5 separate regions of the Homo sapiens genome follow, and regions 1, 3, 4 and 5 are each linked to region 2. The links are contacts of gene promoters, found by promoter capture Hi-C in blood cells and fetal thymus (Javierre and others, 2016). All regions are on one chromosome and are shown on one strand. The core of a region is centred on a gene start or on the middle of the fragment in contact, and the rest is flanking DNA. Distances in the headings are between cores, read along the strand shown. Region 1 holds the start of SIT1 (signaling threshold regulating transmembrane adaptor 1). Region 2 holds the start of KIF24 (kinesin family member 24). Region 3 holds the start of HINT2 (histidine triad nucleotide binding protein 2). Region 4 holds the start of NFX1 (nuclear transcription factor, X-box binding 1). Region 5 holds the start of CLTA (clathrin light chain A).

Region 1 (3,872 bases), core at 1-2,500, 1.3 Mb before region 2:
GGCTCATGCCTGTAATTCCAGCACTTTGGGAGACCGAGGTGGGCAGGTTGCTTGAGGTCAGGAGTTGAGACCAGCCTGGCAACACAGGGAGACCTATCTCTACAAAAAATGAACTAGATTAGCTGGGTGTGGTGGCACATGCCTGTAGTCCTAGCTGCTTAGGTGGCTGAGATGGGAGGATCACTTGAGCCCGGGAGATCGTCAAGGCTGCAGTGAGCTGAGATTGTGTTACTGCACTCCAACCTGGGAGACAAAGTAAGACCCTGTCTCAAAAAAAATATAAAACTTAGATCCATAAAATATTTTTCAGGGAGGATAATTTTATCACTGATTTTTTTTTTCAGAATTTCTGGAACATGGTGATAATAAGAGGACTGATTTTTATTTTTTAAATTCTCTACAGACAATGCACCCCCTTATTGCCTGCAACTCAAGGGGCAGGACTTCTGCCATCCCTATTGTTGGCATGCCACTGCACTGATTTTAAACTTTTAAAAAATGTTGTATGGGCTAGACAAAACACATCTCTGACTTCTGGTCTCAGGTTTATATTTGCAACTTAAAATCCCTCTTCCTACATCAATAGCCTTGCACGTGATGGAGTTAGCTCTAGGTATGGCAGGTACTACACCCGCTGAAGTGAACATGTGCAAGATAGGGCTCAGTTTCCCAGGACAGTCCTACAGCAAAGAGTTTTAAAATGCAATTAATTATTGAGAGTGACAGTTCTTACAGACAGTTTGGATGAAGTGGGTTGAAAGGGGAGGTTTGGGGGTGTCCCCCAAATTATAATGCCCCCAATGAAACAATAACAAGCATCATCTAAACACATATCCTCTCAGATCAGCCTTAGGGTGTGATGGGATCAGAGGTACCAGGAGGCTCCCCCGACCCTTCCACTTTATACCATACTCATTGAGGAATACATCTTTCTTCTGGGACCAGAGTCAGGGAGGAAGGTGGGCATCCTGGAGCAGAAGGGGTGTTCCTGTCCTTGTTAGTCCTGCTTCACACCACTTCTGCCCCCACCCCCCGCCCTCAGAGTCCTCAGGGACTCAACTGCCCGTGGCACATTACCCACAGGCCTGCTTCTCTTCTCAAGGGGGGCAAAGGGCCTGGGCAGCGAGGGTGGGGGAAGCTCAGGAGCTGCAGGAGTGGCGCAGGTGCAGGCACAGGGCGGGGTCTTTGTTCTTTTTTTCATCCCTCCCCTCCCCCTTCCTCCCCGGAAACCAGAGACTTTGCCACCACCAGTATTGGGGATGCTGAGCTGCGGGGTACGGGCCTGAGGAGGGATGGGAGTAAGAAGTGCTGTGGAAACCGTCAGGCCATGAACCAGGCTGACCCTCGGCTCAGAGCAGTGTGCTTGTGGACTCTCACATCTGCAGCCATGAGCAGAGGCGACAACTGCACGGATCTACTCGCACTGGGTGAGCTGGGCAGGGCAGGGGCTGGTGGGGGAGGGGTCATGTGGCCCCAGGTCCCACCTGCTGGGCCCTGGGGGTGGGGCGGGGCTGTTACACCCCCCTTCCTTTCACATCCACAGGAATCCCCTCCATAACCCAGGCCTGGGGACTGTGGGTCCTCTTAGGGGCTGTGACGCTGCTATTTCTCATCTCGCTGGCTGCACACTTGTCCCAGTGGACCAGGGGCCGGAGCAGGAGCCATCCGGGGCAGGGACGGTGGGTGAAGGACAACAGGGATGGGTTGACTGAGAGTTCTCTCTTACCGAGAAGTCCCCACTCATCCCCTAAACTCTGCGTTGCAGCTCTGGAGAGTCTGTGGAAGAGGTCCCGCTGTATGGGAACCTGCATTATCTACAGACAGGTAGGGAGCTGGCAGAGAGGAGGGGCACAGAGGCCAGGTCCTGGGTGGCTGGGATGGGGGCGTGCAGGAGGAAGGACAAGTTGCTGACCAGATTCCTGTTCCCCGTCCCAGGACGGCTGTCTCAAGACCCAGAGCCAGACCAGCAGGATCCAACTCTTGGAGGCCCTGCCAGGGTGAGTCAACTGTGGCTGGAGAAAAGGGGGAGGGAAGGAAGTGGGGGGCTTTTCGGGCTTTTCCGAGGGTCCAGTGAACTTCTAACAGCCTTGCATCTCCAGGCTGCAGAGGAGGTGATGTGCTATACCAGCCTGCAGCTGCGGCCTCCTCAGGGTCGGATCCCCGGTCCTGGAACCCCCGTCAAGTACTCGGAGGTGGTGCTGGACTCTGAGCCAAAGTCCCAGGCCTCGGGCCCCGAGCCGGAGCTCTATGCCTCAGTATGTGCCCAGACCCGCAGGGCCCGGGCCTCCTTCCCGGATCAGGCCTATGCCAACAGCCAGCCTGCAGCCAGCTGAGATGGAGGGCCTGGCACAGCGGGGCGTGCACTGCCCCAGCCCCCCGTAGCAGGGGCATGACTGTTTCCCAACCAGCACCCAAAGACGGGCGCCATTGCCAAGTCACAGGATGTGATCTACCCCGGACTTCCTATCTGAGCTTCAAGGGAGACATCTCAGGGCAAAGCTTTCGTGATGGAGGAGGCAAAGACAGTAGCCCCCTCCTTATTTCTTTTTTCTATCTGTTCCTCTTAGCCCCCAAACTCCCAGGTTCTCACTTCCTTCTTCTGGAGTTTAACCAGATCCTCCCCACCCCCGCTCCCTCATAGTCTACCCCCACGCCTCAGTGTCTCCTCAGGCACAGGAAGTGGGCGGTGGGGGAGGGGTAAGGGCCTGACAGTGGGTGGGTGGGTATATTCCTCAGGAGTCCACAGACTGGAGTGGACCTGGAACTTAGAGACGGGAGGGACCCGAGCCTGGCTTTTGACCTAAGAACCCTAGCAGGAGAATACAGTCTCCATCCTGCTGTCTCTGTCCTGTCCCCAAGTTTTCAAATAAAACTTTCCAAAAAGTGTTTAGATTTTTACCTAGAAGGCTGAAGACTTGCAAAGGGCCCTGCAGATGGGGGTGTGAGCTTTGCTGTCTGCACGGAGCTCTTTCTGGGGGTGCCTAGCTGGGGATGAGGGGCCAAGAGGGGCTGCGGCATCAACAGTGCAGAGGTGGGCACCGGGGTGGAGGGCCAGAGCCCAGCTCCTCAGCTGCTGTTGCTGCTGCTAGAACACCCCTGGGATCTGCACTCAGAGCCACTGCATTCCCCCTGGGGCTGCAAGCTCACAGTCCTGAGCTACTCTCCCCTTGACCTCTATAACTGCCATCACCTCCACAACCTGCCAGCCTGGTTCCTTCATCAAGTCCTCCAATCTGACCTCCGTCTGTCCGCTATGAGTCCCACCTATACCCCTGTTTTGACATCAGTAGCCTTATCTGCACTTAGTCATCGTATACCCCTAGAGGCCTTCTCCTTACCCCATCACTATGGCAGCGGTCCATCTCCACTCACTCTCTCCCACTCTGGCCTCCCAAAGTGCTGGGATTACAGGCATGAGCCACCGTGCCTGGCCTTCACTCTCTCAGTTGTCACCTGCAGTCTTGGCAACAGTTTTGCTTGTCACCACTTTCATTTTAATCCCCATCTAATTTGTCCTGCCTGTCCACCCATCACCTGCTGATTCTTAACCCCAGCCTCCTACCCCATATAGCATGCTACATCAGCCAGTTGGCACAGAGATTAGGACTCTGGGCTCAGGAGCCGGACTGCCTGCATTCAAATTCCATGTCTACCACTTACCAGCTGTGTGTTCTTGGGCAACTGTGCCTCGGTTTCTGAATCTGTAAGATTGAGAGGATATTAACGGTGTTTACTTCAAAAAAAGGTGGTTGTGAGGCTGAATGAGTTACCATTTGTAAAGCACTTAGACAATAAATGCTCAATAATGCTAGGCATTATTAAAATAAGAGAAATACAGGATCCTCTATGGGAGCTCATAGGTGAAGTGACTT
Region 2 (3,911 bases), core at 376-2,875:
GCCTCCCGGGTTCGTGCCATTCTCCTGCCTCAGCCTCCCGAGTAGCTGGGACCACAGGCGCCCGCCACCACGCCCGGCTAATTTTTTGTGTTTTTAGTAGAGACGGGGTTTCACCGTGTCAGCCAGGATGGTCTCGATCTCCTGACCTCGTGATCCGCCCGCCTCGGCCTCCCAAAGGGCTAGGATTACAGGCGTGAGCCACCGCGCCCGGCCGCTACCATTTTTTAAGAAGTTACTACTCGCCAGGCGTTGTGTCAAGTGCTTTACCTTCATTATTTCACTTAATCTTCACAACAACCCGCTGAGGCATTACTGCCATTTTTCAGAAGAGTAGAAAGGGAACTATAGCTCAGAGATGTCTGGGTAAGTGACTCAAATGTAGGTCTGCCTGACTCCTAACATCAATGATCTTAACCTTAACTCTATAATAGCGTTTTACATTTGACAATTTGATTGCATTCAGTTTTTTTTTGTTTTGTTTTGTTTTTGAGACGGAGTCTCGCTCTGTCGCCCAGGCTGGAGTGCAGTGGCGCGACCTCCGCTCACTGCAAGCTCCGCCTCCTGGGTTCATGCCATTCTCCTGCCTCAGCCTCCCGAGTAGCAGGGACTATACGTGCCCGCCACGACGCCTGGCTAACTTTTGTATTTTGTTTAGTAGAGACGGGGTTTCACCGTGTTAGCCAGGATGGTCTCGATCTCCTGACCTCGTGATCCGCCCGCCTTGGCCTCCCAAAATGCTGGGATTACAGGCGTGAGCCACCGCACCCGGCCTGCATTGTTTACGCTGTCCCTTTTTTGTTTGTTTGTTTAAGGCGGTGGGGCTCTTGTTCGACTTTCTTTACTTCTGCTATAACTGCCACGATATTATCCATTCAATAACTGAAGCAATTAGAAAACATAAAATCTCTTTTGGAAAGCAGGCGGGGTTTAATGGGTAGCAACAAGTGAAACTGAGGCCCAGGGAGGGGAAGGTTCGGCGCCTGGGCCTCTGGGCCCTAAACCTGGACCTCTCCCGCCTCTGGGATTTGGACGACCCACCCTATCCCCACTCCGACGGGGACAAGCAAGGCTCAGAGTCAGGGAACCTCCCTTCTCCCGGTGCAGACAGGAAAACTGAGGTCCTGAGAGCGGATGGGACCTGGCCTGCCCACACCTCACTGCCAACTTAGAGGAGGGCGCATCCCTCTCGGGCCCTGCAGCGACCAGAGGTTTGCCAGAGGCAGATTCCCATCGCTCCAAGGCTCATTTCCTCCACTGAGAACTAAAATCAAGTGGGCCCTTAAGGGTACTCACCCGAAGCAGAAGGAGGTAGGAGGCGGACCTTGGACGGAAACTGAAGTACACCGGCCAATCAGAAGAGCCTGGTTACGCTTGGGCCCATCAATAGAATTCGGCAGAAGGATCTTCGACCCGCCTCAAAGGTGCGCGTCTCACACTGAAACGTCGCGAGATCTTCCCTCAAGCGGAACGATTGGCTGAAGGTCGGAAATTGAGAGTTACGCCCACGGTTTCTTCAGACCTCTGATTGGTCTTCCAGAGGAGAAGTCAACGAACGTCAACCGATTCCTTGGATGCCCATTGGTGGGCGGTGCGGGACTGGCGACGCGCGGGCCACAGCGCGGGCGTTCGAACTGGCGCTTGGCGGCGTTGCCATGGAGATGCGGCCTGGCCGCCGCCGGTGGCTCCCGGGTTGACGGGACTGTTAGGTTGCGGGCTTTGGGGCTCACTCCCGACGGCATTGTCTTCTCCTCTTCTCAGACAGGGCAGACCGAGGAGTTTGGACCGAGGTGAGAAAGGGCGGGGAGAATAGAGGAGGGGTAGGTCTGGTCCGGAACCGTGGCGCCTGCCCGCGGACACGGGTGCGCGTGACGTCGGCTGAGCGCGGGAGGAAACTGGCAGTTGTGAGGGAACCGAGAGTTGGCCCCTCTTGGCTCTTCCTAAAGTTCACCTACTTTCCTATCTTTCATCCCCATATCTCTGCCTTTTCTTCAGCAATTATCTTGAACGCCACTTCTCTCACTTTGGGAGACTAAACTCTTGAGTCCCAAAGCCTTCTTGCTTTTGAACCGATAAGCCTGACCGGCACCTCTTTTAGGGCATTTCTATTCGCCCTTGGGTTGTTTACTTCCGGGAAGCCCGTTCGCTTCCCTTTTCCCATAAAATTTTGAAGCCTTTGAGGTAAGGCAAGCATCGTTCACAATGTCTTGCACATAGTAGATTTTCAGGAAATATTTGTTGAGTTGAATTTAATTTACAAGAAATAGATTGGATTCCTCTTCATGCCCTGCCTTGTTGTCTCTCTGCTTCAGAGACGATTTTTTATTTCGAGGCTAGGGGGAGGCCACCCTAATCTTCAATGCAAAAGGACCTAAAAGTCCACACACAGTCCACAGCTGGCCTTTCTACTCTTTGTGAAAGGCTAAACTTTTTTGGATTGGTTGCTGCAACTCTTCCTGCATCTGTGGCTTTTAGCCTTGGTCTCCCAATAATTTTATTAGACTCCTTTTAGTCTTTGCTTAAAATAAACCATTCTGTTGCTGTATGCCAAGATAATTTATCTCCCTTTAGCTTCTTAGTGACCGGCAGCTATTGTCACATTTTAAGTGTGCTTTGGAAAATGTTTTAAAGCATCTTCTTTGTACTTGTATTCTACAAGTAGAGAGGCTTTGTAGTCTCTCTATTGAAGTGCATATAACAGCTGCTCAGGTGAACTCCATCTATTCATCAGGTGTCTATGATAGAATTGCGTTCCTAAGACTGTTTCGTTGTTAACTCATGGATTATATATTCACAGCCTGATTGTTGGTGTGATTGCTCCTTATATCAAATTCATAGCTCACTGGTGGCCTTAATAAAAGGAGTGAAAAAGTTCAGTACAGCAGCTATGTTCTTGTTACCCTTTTATAAAAGTTTGAAACACTACCTTATAGCTGTGACATGTAGTGGAAACCCACTACATGTGGGTTTGGCTTTGGCTCTGTCTCTGTCTCTAATTCACTGTGGGTGGCTTTGCAAGTCATTTAGTCCCTTTATTATTATTATTATTTTTTTTTTATTAGAGAAAATGTCTTGCTCTGTCACCCAGGCTGTAGTGCACTAGCATGATAATAGCTCACCGCAGCCTTGAACGCCTGAATCTAGCCCCTTTAGACCTCATTTTTTCCATCTGGAAAATCAAAGAATTGAATTAGATTAAAATTCCTGTGGCTCTACTCTCAAGTCAAGTAGTTGATGTCAGGTAGACCACACACTCTCAGCCTTCCAAAGACCATACAGACTTTTTTTTTAGCTGCTGAAAGTAGTAGTTACCATTTATTGAGTGTTCACCCCGTACAAAGCACTGTATCCAGGGCTTTATATGCATATTACATTTTTCTTAGTGTAGCACATTACTGCTAAGATAGCATTTTATTTAAAATTTGTGGTTTTATATTGTTAATGAAAATCTTTAGTTATTCAGAGTGTGTCCTTGGGGCAACCTAAGGTATGAGCCTCTCAGTTTTTAGTTTAGGGAGAACCACAGTTTCTTTCTCTGGGCTGCTCTTTTGTCGTAAAGTGAGGGGCTGAACTCTTCTAGATCCCTTCCAGATCTAGTATTCTATGATGCCTGATATATTAATCCAGTTTCCCTATGCTGGCTCAGCAAACCAGTTTATAATTTGCACAGTGTAGATCCTCAACACATTTTGTTAAATAAATAATAGAGTTCTACTTCTTAAACCTTGAGTGTATGGTCATTGTATACCTCCCAAGTTACTGTCTCAAGGGTTTTGATGTTCATATCGTGTTGAATAAGAAGAGTTTTCTGTAGGTATAAACTAATAATAATAGTATAATATATTGTTGAGTGTTTATATATCAGACACTGAATGTAGCAGTTAATTTACATTATTCTAATTAACCCTCATGAA
Region 3 (3,692 bases), core at 409-2,908, 1.5 Mb before region 2:
GCAAAGTTCCCCAACAGTGGTTATATGCCCCATGATAACCATTCACCTAAAACTAATTCAACTAATAGTCAACAATAGAGTTAGGATTACTATGATAAACTCATTGAAGGAAATAATAAGCAGCCAATACAAACTATATTTACGTAGACTGTAAAAATATGAAAAATTGATTACACATGGGTTAGTATCATATGCAATACATATTACATATTATGAAAAAAAGACAGGAAACACCAAATGTTATTCATTCAACAATTACTGACCACCTATATGTATCAGGTCATGTGTTTAAAAAAAAAAAAAAGAAAAAAAGAAAAACCAAAGAAACAGTGGTAACTTGTCCTATGTGATATCAGACTAAAACTTACCTAGCGTCTGAGAATATTAGTATTTTGTGACCCCACGTTTCTTATGTCAAAAATATATATTCCAGCAGTGCAAACCTGACTTATTGGTGCCTCATACCTGTAATCCCAGCACCTTGGGAGGCCGAGGCAGGAGGATCACGAGGTCAGGAGATCGAGACCATCCTGGCTAACACGGTGAAACCCCGTCTCTAATAAAAATACAAAAAATTAGCCGGGCGTGGTGGCGGGTGCCTGTAGTCCCAGCTACTCGGGAGGCTGAGGCAGGAGAATGGCGTGAACTCGGGAGGCGGAGCTTGCAGTGAGCCGAGATCGCGCCACTGCACTCCAGCCTGGGCGACAGAGCGAGACTCCGTCTCAAAAAAAAAAAAAAAGAAAAAAGAAAAAAAGAAAAAAAAAGAAAACACCAGGCACCGAGCTAACTGTATCACACACCTTTTCCGATTAGAAAAGAACAATGAATACATACTCCTTTGCTTATTATAATTCTTGTGCGGCAAATATAGGACACTCTTATCTCCTCCTGCTCAAAAAAAAAAAATGCAAAAACCACAGACTTTTTAATCTATGGAGTGAATGCGTTAACAAGAACATAGAATTAAGGAAGAATTTCCCTTAGATAAGTACATTAAAATCTCCAAAATGCTCAAGGGACTGAAACTGCCCTTGTGGAGAAAATGCTGCGCATCAGCCCCGCCAGTTAAAACAAACAAACAAACACAAAAAAACACACCTCATCCCCGTTCACCTTTAGCCCCACCCCGGGTGGTTCTTGGAGCCAATAAGCGCCGGATGCCCTCAGAGCCCCGCCCTCCTCCTGGCCAAAGCGGTGAGAGGGTCTAAAACAGCCCTTTCTGCAGCAGGTGGCGGAGCCCCGCCCCCTTCTCCCCGCGCACCAATAGGAACCAGACCTGAAGAGGACGAACCAAGAACGAAAAGAACCACCCACTCGGGAGCCGCAACCTAGAAGCCAGAGTTGTGTATCAGATTCAACTAGGAGAAAATCCCACCTCCAGGCTCCATTAATCCTTCCAATGGAGTGGAAGTTTCTCTCACAGAGAAACTAGTAAGGGGATCCAATGGGAAAAGAACGTTCACACGGACTAGAAGACGAAACCAATGGAATGGAAAATTGTCCTCGCGTTGGTAGAAGCAGCCAATGAGATGAAAAGAGCCCGCCTCCAAAGTGGCTGCAGAGGCAATGGGGTGAATCGTGCTCAGAGGCGCGCTCCAATGGGGTAGCAGGGCTCGCCCGGCCGCCACTACCCCGCTTCCCCGCGCCCGGAGTCCCCACCCACGGCCGGCCGCGGAGCCGAGTGCTGACCCGGGTGAGAGGTTCCCGCGGCTCAGGGAAGATGGCGGCAGCCGTGGTGCTGGCTGCTGGGTTGCGCGCGGCGCGCAGAGCCGTGGCGGCCACGGGGGTGCGCGGGGGGCAGGTGAGAAGTGGCGCGGGAGCGAGTAGGGGGTCCTGCGGGCTCCGAAGCCATCCGGGGCCAGGGGGTCCCGAAGGCGCGCAGAGCCGCGCAGAGCTCCTGCCTGTGGCCTCTGCCCCTCCGAGGCACAAGCTCCGGGGCTGTGTGGTGAGGTCGAACTGGTGGCTCCGGAGAACGAGCTGGTGCTGATTCCCGCCCTGCGCAGGCCGGGGCGCCGAGGTCGGGACAGGGTCAGTGCAGCGGCTGCCGCCTTCTTTCCACTGCCTGCAGCCCAGCTGGCCCGATGCCCCCTGCAGGAAATGAGCTTTCTCTTCTTGGAGCCAGTGCTCTGCCCTCCTCAGGCTTCTGGCCTCCTAATGAGCACTAGTGTTAACCTCTCTTCTGCACTTGCCAGAAGCGGCTCGGAGGTCAGAGAATTCATTCCGTCCCGTTCTCCCCCAACGTGATGCAATGACATCAGCCTTCTCTGAATCCCTTACCCGAAGTTCCCTGGGGCTAGGGGAGCAGAGGTCACTTAGCTGAACTCTTACCTCCACTCATTCAAGGGACAAGAGTTAAAATTCACAGAGTCACATGTGACACCCAGATGAGGGGTCAACTAGTGTCAAACAGGGCGATTGCATTAAAACTTAAATAAAACAGGCGACAAGGCTTAAAGATCAGAAAACAAGTAACGGAAATAAGTGGAAATGTACTAACAAGGTGAGAGTGGAAAGAGATTCAAGCCATCGCAAGAGATTATGGAAACCATCCCTTTATTTTATATTAGAAGCTGAGAGAAGGAATTTATCTGAGGTAATTCAGTGGTATGGTAAGGTAGGAACTGAGACCAAAATCCCCAGTCTCTCATTCTAGATCCTTTCCCTAAACAGTGCTATATTTCGTGGACACATGAGCAGGAATCAATTGCACTGCTGAATCCTGATAATAATACCGCCTGTTATCTAACCAGGTCCAGCACCTTCTGGCCCTACCCTTTGCTGCTGGTGCTCTGAAATTCAGGAACTTTCCTCCTGGGTGGGAACGATGAATAGGTTATTAGAAGGACGAAATTAACAACTATCAGAGCCCAGCTTCTGCCAGCTCCCTCCTTTGAATATGGTCGATCCACCTTCAGGTCCGAGGAGCTGCAGGTGTGACTGATGGGAATGAAGTGGCCAAGGCCCAGCAGGCAACTCCTGGGGGAGCAGCCCCAACCATCTTCTCCCGGATCCTGGACAAGAGCCTCCCAGCTGACATTCTCTATGAGGACCAGCAGGTGGGGTGCTCTTAGGACCTATCCCCTTAGGAATGTTGTAGATACCATCCAACCTGTTGAAGTAACGTGGCCTCTGGCCTGTCACTTCCCCCAGTGTCTTGTGTTCCGTGATGTGGCCCCTCAGGCTCCTGTGCACTTCCTGGTCATTCCTAAGAAGCCCATTCCTCGGATTAGCCAGGCTGAAGAAGAAGACCAGCAGGTGGGAAGAACAGGGCCAGGGTTTGGCTGGGAGGAGCCCCTGGACCCAGCTAGAGGTCTTGCTCCCTATGAATGAAGCCACCTATGTCCCTCCGCTCTCTCTATAGCTTCTAGGACACCTACTCCTTGTGGCCAAGCAGACAGCAAAGGCTGAGGGCCTGGGAGATGGATACCGACTTGGTGAGTGACTTTTGGCCCTTGGTCCCTCACCTATGAATTCTCATTCCTACTTCTCAATATGATCTTCATTCTTCGACCTCTGCCATGATCCTGACTCCCTAACCCCAAGCTCAATTTCAGTGATCAACGATGGGAAGCTGGGTGCACAATCTGTGTATCATCTGCACATTCATGTACTTGGGGGCCGGCAGCTCCAGTGGCCTCCAGGTTGAACCTGCCAACTGATTAAAGGACACCAGACTCTGGATGCTTGGATGG
Region 4 (3,730 bases), core at 308-2,807, 1.0 Mb after region 2:
GCCTGTGGATGAGACGATCAATAGATCCAGTTTAGAGAATCTGGTGAAGGACTAGGTGAGGAGAATAACAAAATACCCAGCCCAAAAAGTTTTCCAACCCCAAGGAAGACTTAATATCCACATCAAGACTAGGGTACACCAATGCAGTGTGTTTTCCAACTTTTTTTTTTGAGACGAAGTCACACTCTGTCGCCCAGGCTGGAGTGCAGTGGCACGATCTTGGCTCACTGCAACTTCCGCCTCCAGGGTTCAAGCAATTCTCTTGCCTCAGCCTCCGGAGTAGCTGGGACTACAGGCGCGTGCCACCATGCCCAGCTAATTTTTTGTATTTTTAGTAGAGACGGGGTTTCACCGTGTTAGCCAGGATGGTCTCGATCTCCTGACCTCGTGATCCGTCCACCTCGGCCTCCCAAAGTGCTAGGATTACAGGCGTGAGCCACCACGCCCGGCCCTAACTTTTTAAACTAAGAACCATAGTAATAAATACATTTTACCTGCCACCCAGTATACAAATACATATATGGTCTTCTTGGTGCCCCAACGGCTGGTCAGGGACAGAGCTGAGATTCAAACCAATGGTTTCCAAACTCCATTCTGCAAACTGCTGCCCTGTTTTCCAGAGTGGGCCATAAAATCAAATGAAGGCAGTGGGCTGTGACATATTTTTAAACGAAACAGAAAACAGAATATATTGCTGATTGTAAAACAAACCAACCAACCTCACTGCTTCCAGAAACTTCTGGTTCGCTTTTATATTTATGTAAGTGTACAATATTTAAGGTCGCGATGCAAAATGTTTCTTTTGGTTGCTGTCCAACACATTTGGAAAACACTGATCTATGGAACACCCTGAGGAAATGGATGTTATATCAACGAACAAATGAGGCTGTCTCTACACACTGAGGCAACTCCAGGAGGGGGAGTGAGTGAACAATTACAGAATAGGTACAGTACAGGGCGGGAGCCATCACAGGAATTAACTTATCTACTCCCAACTGACAGATGAGGAGACTGAGACTGAGTCACACGGGGTTCGCAGCAGGCTGAGACTCTAAACTACTGGAATTCGGCTCGCGCCCACGCCACCACTCCAGGCGGTATGAGCACACCACACCCTACACGTCAAGAGCCCGCCACCGTCACTGGCTGTGACCTGGCCGACGCCCGCCTGTCGAAGGTCAGTGCGCCGCTGCCCCAGAAACAGCCTGTGGGAAGGCAGGGCACCCACATCGACTCGCAGCGCCGGGACAAGTCCTCTCTCCTCCGAAACCCAGCTACTGGGCTTCACCATCTAGTCCAAGAAGACACAGATCTTCGTACGCACGATGCGCGGGGCTTGGCCCTTCCGAGCCACTATCCTACGCCCTAGCATGTGCTACTCTCGCGATATGAGTGGCTGAGGCCCTAGAACTTCGTCACTGACCCAATTTCCGCTCCCTGAAAGGGGCCCAGTCCCGCTCGGGCCGGGACAATACCTGAGACAGGAGGCGCCTCCGCCATCCCGTGCCGCAGAACCTAGATCGAGCTGTACAGCCAAGTCAGCACTGTCACCAGGTCACGTGCCCCGGACTTCCGGCGCCGCGAGAATATTCGCATCTGCGCGCCGTGTAGACGGCCACAGAGGTTGCGCAGCCCGAATCTGTGTGGCGCGTTCGTGACGTCAGATAGACGCGCCAGGTGTCGGGCGGGAGGAGGAGACTAGTAGCTGGATGGAAATAGCAACAATCGCAGGAGGGAGGGCGGCGACTTGCGTAATCATTGTGGTTTTCCTTTTTTTATTTTTTGATATAGGGTCTTGCTGCCTTACCCAGGCTTGAGTGCAGTGGTCTGATCATGGCTCACTATAGCTTCAGTCTCTAATCCTCCCGCCTCAGCCTTCCGGTAGCTGGAACTACAGGCGGAGCCACCATGCGCAGCTATTTTTAGTAGAGACGGGTTTCGCCATGTTGCCCAGGCTAGTCTCTCCAACTCCTGGCCTCAAGCGATCCTGCCGCTTTGGCCTCCTAAAGTGCTTGGCTTACAGGCGAGCCACCACGCCTGGCTCCAGACTTTTTTTTTTTTTTTTTTTTTTACAAAGGCGTTTATTCTCATCAGTATCACCGATATTCTCATGGTTCACATTTGCCAACGCCGCTCCTCTCCTTACAGTAGTTAAATGTGCAATCTCACTTGGGGGCCCAGGGAGGGGTGGGGGCTCGGCCCAGGGTGGGGAGGGCGTTGGCACTTCACGTGGACAGGGTGGGCAGCCTGTCCTGCGTGAAAGAGGTGTGGGTGAGTGGGCGGCCAGGGAAGGGGAGTTGGCAGGGGAGGGCCCCGCAGTCTTTTTTTCTTTGGTGGTTGGTGATTCTCCATTCAGATTCCTTCCTGGCTTCCCAGGGTAGGGGAACCATGCAGCTCAGGGCAGGGCAGGGGAGGAAGAGAAGGAAAAAGCAGCAGGCCGCCCGGGGGGAAAGGTGGAGGGTGAACGGCAGGGCAAGGGGGAACGGGTGGCTCCTGAGGTAAGGCACAACCCTGTCTTTGGCTTTCCTGGTGAGGAGTTTCCTCCCCTGCACCCCCTGCCCGACGCTTCTCCCCACCCCCCCACCCCCCAGACCCACACACAGTCCCAGGAGCCAGGGGGCACCACCTCCTGGGGTCCCTGAAACAAGTGGGCTCTGCCACCCAAGCCAGTGCCGCAGGGGCTCGAGGAGGGACACCCGAGGAAAAGGCAGAGAGGGGCAGGCAGGGGCCTACCCAGGACAAGGGGGTGGGGGTGAGAAGACCCTAGGCCCAGGAGCTGGGCCCCCCGCCCCAACTAAGTCCTGGAAGTGGGGGAGCACCTGCTTCCTTTCGGGGGTCTGGCTGGAGCCCCGGTCTGCCCCTTGGCCTCCGTCAGGCCCAGCCACTTGCCAAGTGACCAGGGCATTGTGCTTTGGGGTAAACGCTGGGGTGGGGTGGCAGGCCAGGAGGCAGGGGGAGAGGAGGGATGACTAAGGTGCTTGTGCTTTAGCTGGGGGTGTCGATATCCCCCACTCGGGCCGGCTGGGGGCTAAGGTGCCAGGCCCCGGCCAGGAAGACAGTGCCAAGACCCCAGCAGACCGTGGCACTGACCCCCACAACAAGCAGATGTTAAGAGGGACCCCCAGTGGGCCAGCGGGGCTGCTGGTCCCATCAGGGGGATGGTCTTCAAATCAGATTACAAGGGTCCAGTAGGGGCTGGCCCCCACCCCATCTCCTGAAATCCCCCTGCCCCTGGAGAGACCCCTGGGAGCAGTAGGTAGGCGGGGGTTGGGGAGGCAGAGGAGAGGCAGGGAGGACGAGGGCCAGAAACGCAAACAAGGATGTGGATGGTGAAATGACACCCCGCATAGGGGGATGGGGAGTTAAAAAAGAAAAAAAACTCTCTGCCTTCACATGAAAATCTAAAACAACAACAAAAAACCACCCACTCTGGGCGAGAACAAAAAGAGAGGAATGGTAACAGAGAAAATTCTGCAAACAACTGCTAACAATGGAAGTGGACCCGGCCCTGCCCTGCCCTGCCCTGCCCAGCCCCCAGGAGCTGGGCCCAGCCAACCAGCCAAGGCCTGGGACACCCTGAAACTATAGCCCTGTTGGGGAAGGTGGACAGGGGAGGGGGAACCCGGTCGGACCCACAGGAGCCTAGGCAGCAGCTGGGACTGGAGTCCTACACCCACACTCCACACACACCCACACCCACACACACACACACACACACACTCAGCCTGCC
Region 5 (3,996 bases), core at 600-3,099, 1.9 Mb before region 2:
AGAGTGGGTAGACTTGGGGCTCAGCTATTAACTCGTGCTTTTTTAAGCAAGTCGTTTCTCTCTAGGATTGCTTCTCTTCTATTAAATGAGGAAGGTTAAACTAAGGGTCTAAGAAGTCAATTTTAAAATTCTCAGACAAATGTTAGAGACCACCCAATGAAAATATCCCCTAATCACTTAAGGCCAACTTCATCTCACAATCACAGCCTAGTTTAGTCCAACCTACCCGCTATAAAGTTGCATATTCGGGCATATTACATGTTCCCACTAAGTTCTTATTGGGGGACTGATTTGTTTAGGAAGCAACATGGTGCAGTCAAAAACTCAAGAGGCTGCAAACTAGCAGCACACCCACCAACCCATCCATCAAAAGGTTCCGCCTGGCTGGCACAGTAACTTGAGACTGCTGGATCTGAATGCCTTTACACAGAGCACTACTATAGTGCAGCAAAGCCTCAGTCTCCAACACTTCTACTGTCTCATGTCAAGCCAGCTTCTCTCGTATATGTTACCTACCTGGCTCCTTAAGGTTTGAATTTAGGGTAGACACTACTCCTATATGCCCCAGTAGTGCCCTATTCTCCCTTAGTTGGAATTTTTTAAGTGAATGAAAAGCCGTATTTCATTTCTTCTAGCTAAATTTCCTACTTCTTTGTATTATTAAGTAGGTCTTTTCCACTCATGATCCTAAGCATCACACACAGGTTAAGGCATCCAAAGGTCAAACTGCCATCCTACCTGCCCCATTTTTACTTGAGTTTGGCTGAGAACATTCTCTATTCACCTCTTCATCCCTCCCTGATTGGTTTAGGCTAATCTTGGGTTCTGCTTAGGCAATATTGCCTACCAAAGCTGTTCCCAGAGGAAGAGCTCCAGAAGTCCTAGCTGTAAATCAATCGCTCAACGATAGCAAACTCCTACCGCGCTTGGCAGTTCTTTCTCCAGACCTAGATCATCTTTCGAGTTCCCTACTCCCTCCTTCCTCCTCGTAATCCAACACTCTGTACACCTTAAGTGCTTAAATGCTGAACTGCATTGCTACTTTTGTTTGTATCTCTCAAAAACGATATTTCCATTCTTATTTTTTTCCGCCCTCCTTTTCTAATAACGAGTTCTGTGCTCGGCTCAGACTTATAAGCTTATAAGTCTGGAAAAACTGCGCCAATGCGGTTGCTTCAGAGACCGGACTAAAGGCACAGCAAATGCTTAATGAAAAGTTGCTGAATTGAACGGGCTTCTTCCGGCTCCGGAGCCTGCCACCCTACACTTGCTTTCTCGCTCCGCCCGCGCCCAGAAGCACTCAAACATGCTGAGAACCGAACAGGCTTCTCGAGCCTAGGTTTCTGAAAGACCGGGCCAGGGTCTCGTTTCCTGTTTGCACTGCTCCCTAACCTCCTAATTCAGCAAGGAGCACGAGTCACACAGAAGCTCTCGGACCCACTGTGGACCGAGTTTCCAGACAAGTCCTCTCGCCCCAAACGCGCCCGCACTCTCACCCGGACCCCCCGGCGGCTCGCCGTGCGGCTGGGGCCCGGGGGCGCCGCCGTCCAGGATGGCGAAGGCCTCGTCGTTCTCGATGCCCGCAATCTCGCTCTCTTGCTGCGCCAAGAAGGCCGCAGCCGGGTCTTCTTCGCCGGCGCCGGCCACTCCGTTCCCCAGCGCGGGACCGCCAGGGGCGCCGGCAGGGGCGCCGAACGGATCCAGCTCAGCCATGGCGGGCAACTGAACGGCACGGACACCAACGGTGAGACAAAAACCAACCGACCCACCGACACCACGCCCGGCAGCCACCGCTGTGGTGCCGACTGGGAGAGGAGGACAAGCGCCAGGAGGGAGACGGGTAAAGCGGAAGCCCTACCCGTGTATCCGGTCGGTCTAGGCGGTGTTGCAGAGCCGAAAAGGGAACAACCAATCAGAGGACAACAATGGTTCAGGAGCTACCCAATCAGCAAGTGGAGGGGCGGTCCCCCTAAAACAACTCGTGACTGGGGTAGGGCGGGAGGTGAGGGAGGTGAGCTGCGCGGGCCCCGGGAGGCGGAAGTGCTGCCTGATAGGGAGCGTCCTACCCACCCCGTCTGCTGGAGCTGGACTGACCAGGGACGGCCACCCCTGAGGGGACTCTAGTGCTGCACTGGGAGGTGAGGTGAAGTTAGGGCAGCGACGATTGGCCGATTACTGAAGAGGCATGCCACTTAGGCTTTCTGAACCTCAGTTTCCTCATTCGTAAAATAGAAACAAGAATCCTGCTCTTGCGCCCCCTCCCGGGATTATTAGAAGATTGAATCCTAAAAAAAAAGAAGAAGAAGATTGAATCCTTTTATGGATTTGAGGGTCCCTGGCTTTATAAATTTAAAATATTTAATTCTTTCAGCCAGCCTGGATTATTTGCTCCCTTAGAGCCCATAGATTTACTGTAATTGATTCAGTCCACTCCGATTTTTCTCGCCCATAAGTATTTTTATTTAAAAATGAATATATCTTATCTTCTTCAACGAAGCACTTTTGCAGCCATTACGTCTTTTCGGAGCTAGACAGAAGTTACTAAACCTGGAAAATTCCTTAAGGATCACTTGCTTCAAAGGGAGACACGGTGGCCCTGCTGTTCAAGGAGCGTCAGTGACCCAGAGAGTCAGTGACCAAGAGGAAACGCCTGTCTCCTGGGGACTTCCAAGATACTAGCTACAGTCTCTTATATTTACACCTTTCCTCCCTAAGGACAGCAGGAAAAAGAAAGTTCCGTGTTTCTTTTTAAATCAGGGAGATGTTAATAGCTACATGGCTCATTTTGTCTACACCACAGAAATAACAGTGGTTCCAGTTAATCATGCTCATGTTGAGGGGGAGTGCTTATGCAGGGGCCACCAGAAGACCCCTCTCCTTCACTACCACCACCACCACCCTAAGAAATGAAAAGCCAAAAAAAGAAACCAAAAAACCAGAGGTCAACAAGAAGCTTCCAGAGGTAGTCAGCAGGGGACAAGAAAGTGTTTTTATAAAAAACGCACATATCTTTGATGACAAAAAAAAAGGGATAGCTATGAAGGAAAAATGAAGCAAATAAAAATTATTTAAAGCATATATTTACTTAAAGCATAATTTTAAAGTCATTTAAAGTATGAACCATAGGAAAGTGTTGAAGAAAAACATTTAAGAAAGTTAAAATGTTAGGGTCTGCAATTGATTCTGTTTCCCCTTGTCTGTTGTTTTATGCTCATCCCTAACATACATTGGCAACAGTGCATGAAGTATTTTCACATTAGCCTTGACATAGTCTCATGAGGAAAAGAGGGGCAGGGACTACTATGAGAGAGCCCAAGGAAGACAACTTTTAGTTGCTCACAACAGTAGTAGCTCCGGAACAGACAGCATTCTTTTTGGGGAAATGCATGACTTTGGGAGAAACTCTCCTGTGATTCCCTTGCTAGAGGAGGCATTACATATTATGCAAAAGCAACAAACAAGTATACACTCAAAATTGGAGGAATAGCTGATGTGTTTACGGATGATTTCACAGAGGTGGCTTGGAGCTCAGTTTTGAAATATGGGGAACGTTTAGAAGAGTCAATAATGAGGGTCTAATGTTAGTGTCATGTAAAAGTTCAGAGGTGGGAAAATGTTTGGCATGTTTTGGGGACAGTGAGTAAATTAGTTGGAGTCTGAAGAGCTCAGCAAGATGAATAATTGAAGGAAAATCTGGGGACAGATTCTGGAGCCCTGAAAGCATTCCATGTTAAGGAATCTTAATGGCAATAAGGAACCATAGAAGGTTTCAGATAAAGGAATGTTTTGATCAACTGCTGCTTAGGAGGTTAATCGGGTCCCTGGTTGCAGGATGGATGGGGCAGAGGCTGTGGGCAGAGATGTCAGGAGTGACATGATGAAGGTCTGGGCAGGGCAGAGGTATGGAGCTGAGTGGGGAGCGTTGATGGGAAAGCGGGTCCCAGTAGGGAAGTGACTAACTTGGTGACCGACCAGAGGTACGGGCTGGGAAAAAGG

The links. The method cuts DNA at HindIII sites, captures the fragments that hold promoters and counts their contacts. A CHiCAGO score of 5 or more calls a contact.
Region 1: the fragment with the promoter of SIT1 here is called in contact with the fragment with the promoter of KIF24 in region 2 in 1 of 17 cell types (neutrophils); the score reaches 6.1 in neutrophils.
Region 3: the fragment with the promoter of HINT2 here is called in contact with the fragment with the promoter of KIF24 in region 2 in 1 of 17 cell types (neutrophils); the score reaches 6.7 in neutrophils.
Region 4: a contact is called between the fragment with the promoter of NFX1 here and the fragment with the promoter of KIF24 in region 2, in 1 of 17 cell types (neutrophils). The highest score is 6.3, in neutrophils.
Region 5: the fragment with the promoter of CLTA here is called in contact with the fragment with the promoter of KIF24 in region 2 in 1 of 17 cell types (erythroblasts); the score reaches 5.4 in erythroblasts.

Annotation. Positions count from the first base shown.
Region 1 is chr9:35,648,309-35,652,180 of GRCh38, reverse strand. It overlaps SIT1 (signaling threshold regulating transmembrane adaptor 1), which reads left to right and starts at 1,250. Exons shown (of 5, transcript NM_014450.3): 1 at 1,250-1,427; 2 at 1,544-1,679; 3 at 1,766-1,824; 4 at 1,936-1,997; 5 at 2,100-2,886. The coding sequence starts at 1,328. The coding sequence ends at 2,333. RefSeq lists a silencer at 1,470-1,539 and an enhancer at 2,450-2,499. The HindIII fragment of the contact is 5,575 bases long and covers 1-2,501 here.
Region 2 is chr9:34,326,982-34,330,892 of GRCh38, reverse strand. KIF24 (kinesin family member 24) reads left to right here and starts at 1,625. Exons shown (of 13, transcript NM_194313.4): 1 at 1,625-1,787. NUDT2 (nudix hydrolase 2) reads right to left here and starts at 1,324. Exons shown (of 5, transcript NM_001161.5): 1 at 1,294-1,324. RefSeq lists enhancers at 1,379-1,568, 1,104-1,611, 1,699-1,798, 1,899-1,958. The HindIII fragment of the contact is 30,936 bases long and covers 1-3,911 here.
Region 3 is chr9:35,813,008-35,816,699 of GRCh38, reverse strand. It overlaps HINT2 (histidine triad nucleotide binding protein 2), which reads left to right and starts at 1,658. Exons shown (of 5, transcript NM_032593.3): 1 at 1,658-1,801; 2 at 2,916-3,056; 3 at 3,151-3,255; 4 at 3,362-3,434; 5 at 3,555-3,692. The coding sequence starts at 1,721. The coding sequence ends at 3,646. FAM221B (family with sequence similarity 221 member B) reads left to right here. Exons shown (of 7, transcript NM_001012446.4): 7 at 1-309. RefSeq lists silencers at 1,016-1,195, 1,526-1,845 and an enhancer at 1,286-1,465. The HindIII fragment of the contact is 5,278 bases long and covers 1-3,692 here.
Region 4 is chr9:33,288,343-33,292,072 of GRCh38, reverse strand. It overlaps NFX1 (nuclear transcription factor, X-box binding 1), which reads right to left and starts at 1,557. Exons shown (of 24, transcript NM_002504.6): 1 at 1,476-1,557. The coding sequence starts at 1,500. It also overlaps the pseudogene LOC100862682. RefSeq lists enhancers at 1,282-1,331, 313-1,512, 1,482-1,531, 1,542-1,961, 2,667-3,628. The HindIII fragment of the contact is 6,050 bases long and covers 1-3,730 here.
Region 5 is chr9:36,188,774-36,192,769 of GRCh38, reverse strand. CLTA (clathrin light chain A) reads right to left here and starts at 1,849. Exons shown (of 5, transcript NM_001833.4): 1 at 1,497-1,849. The coding sequence starts at 1,713. RefSeq lists enhancers at 1,654-1,873, 1,589-2,214. The HindIII fragment of the contact is 1,815 bases long and covers 1,141-2,955 here.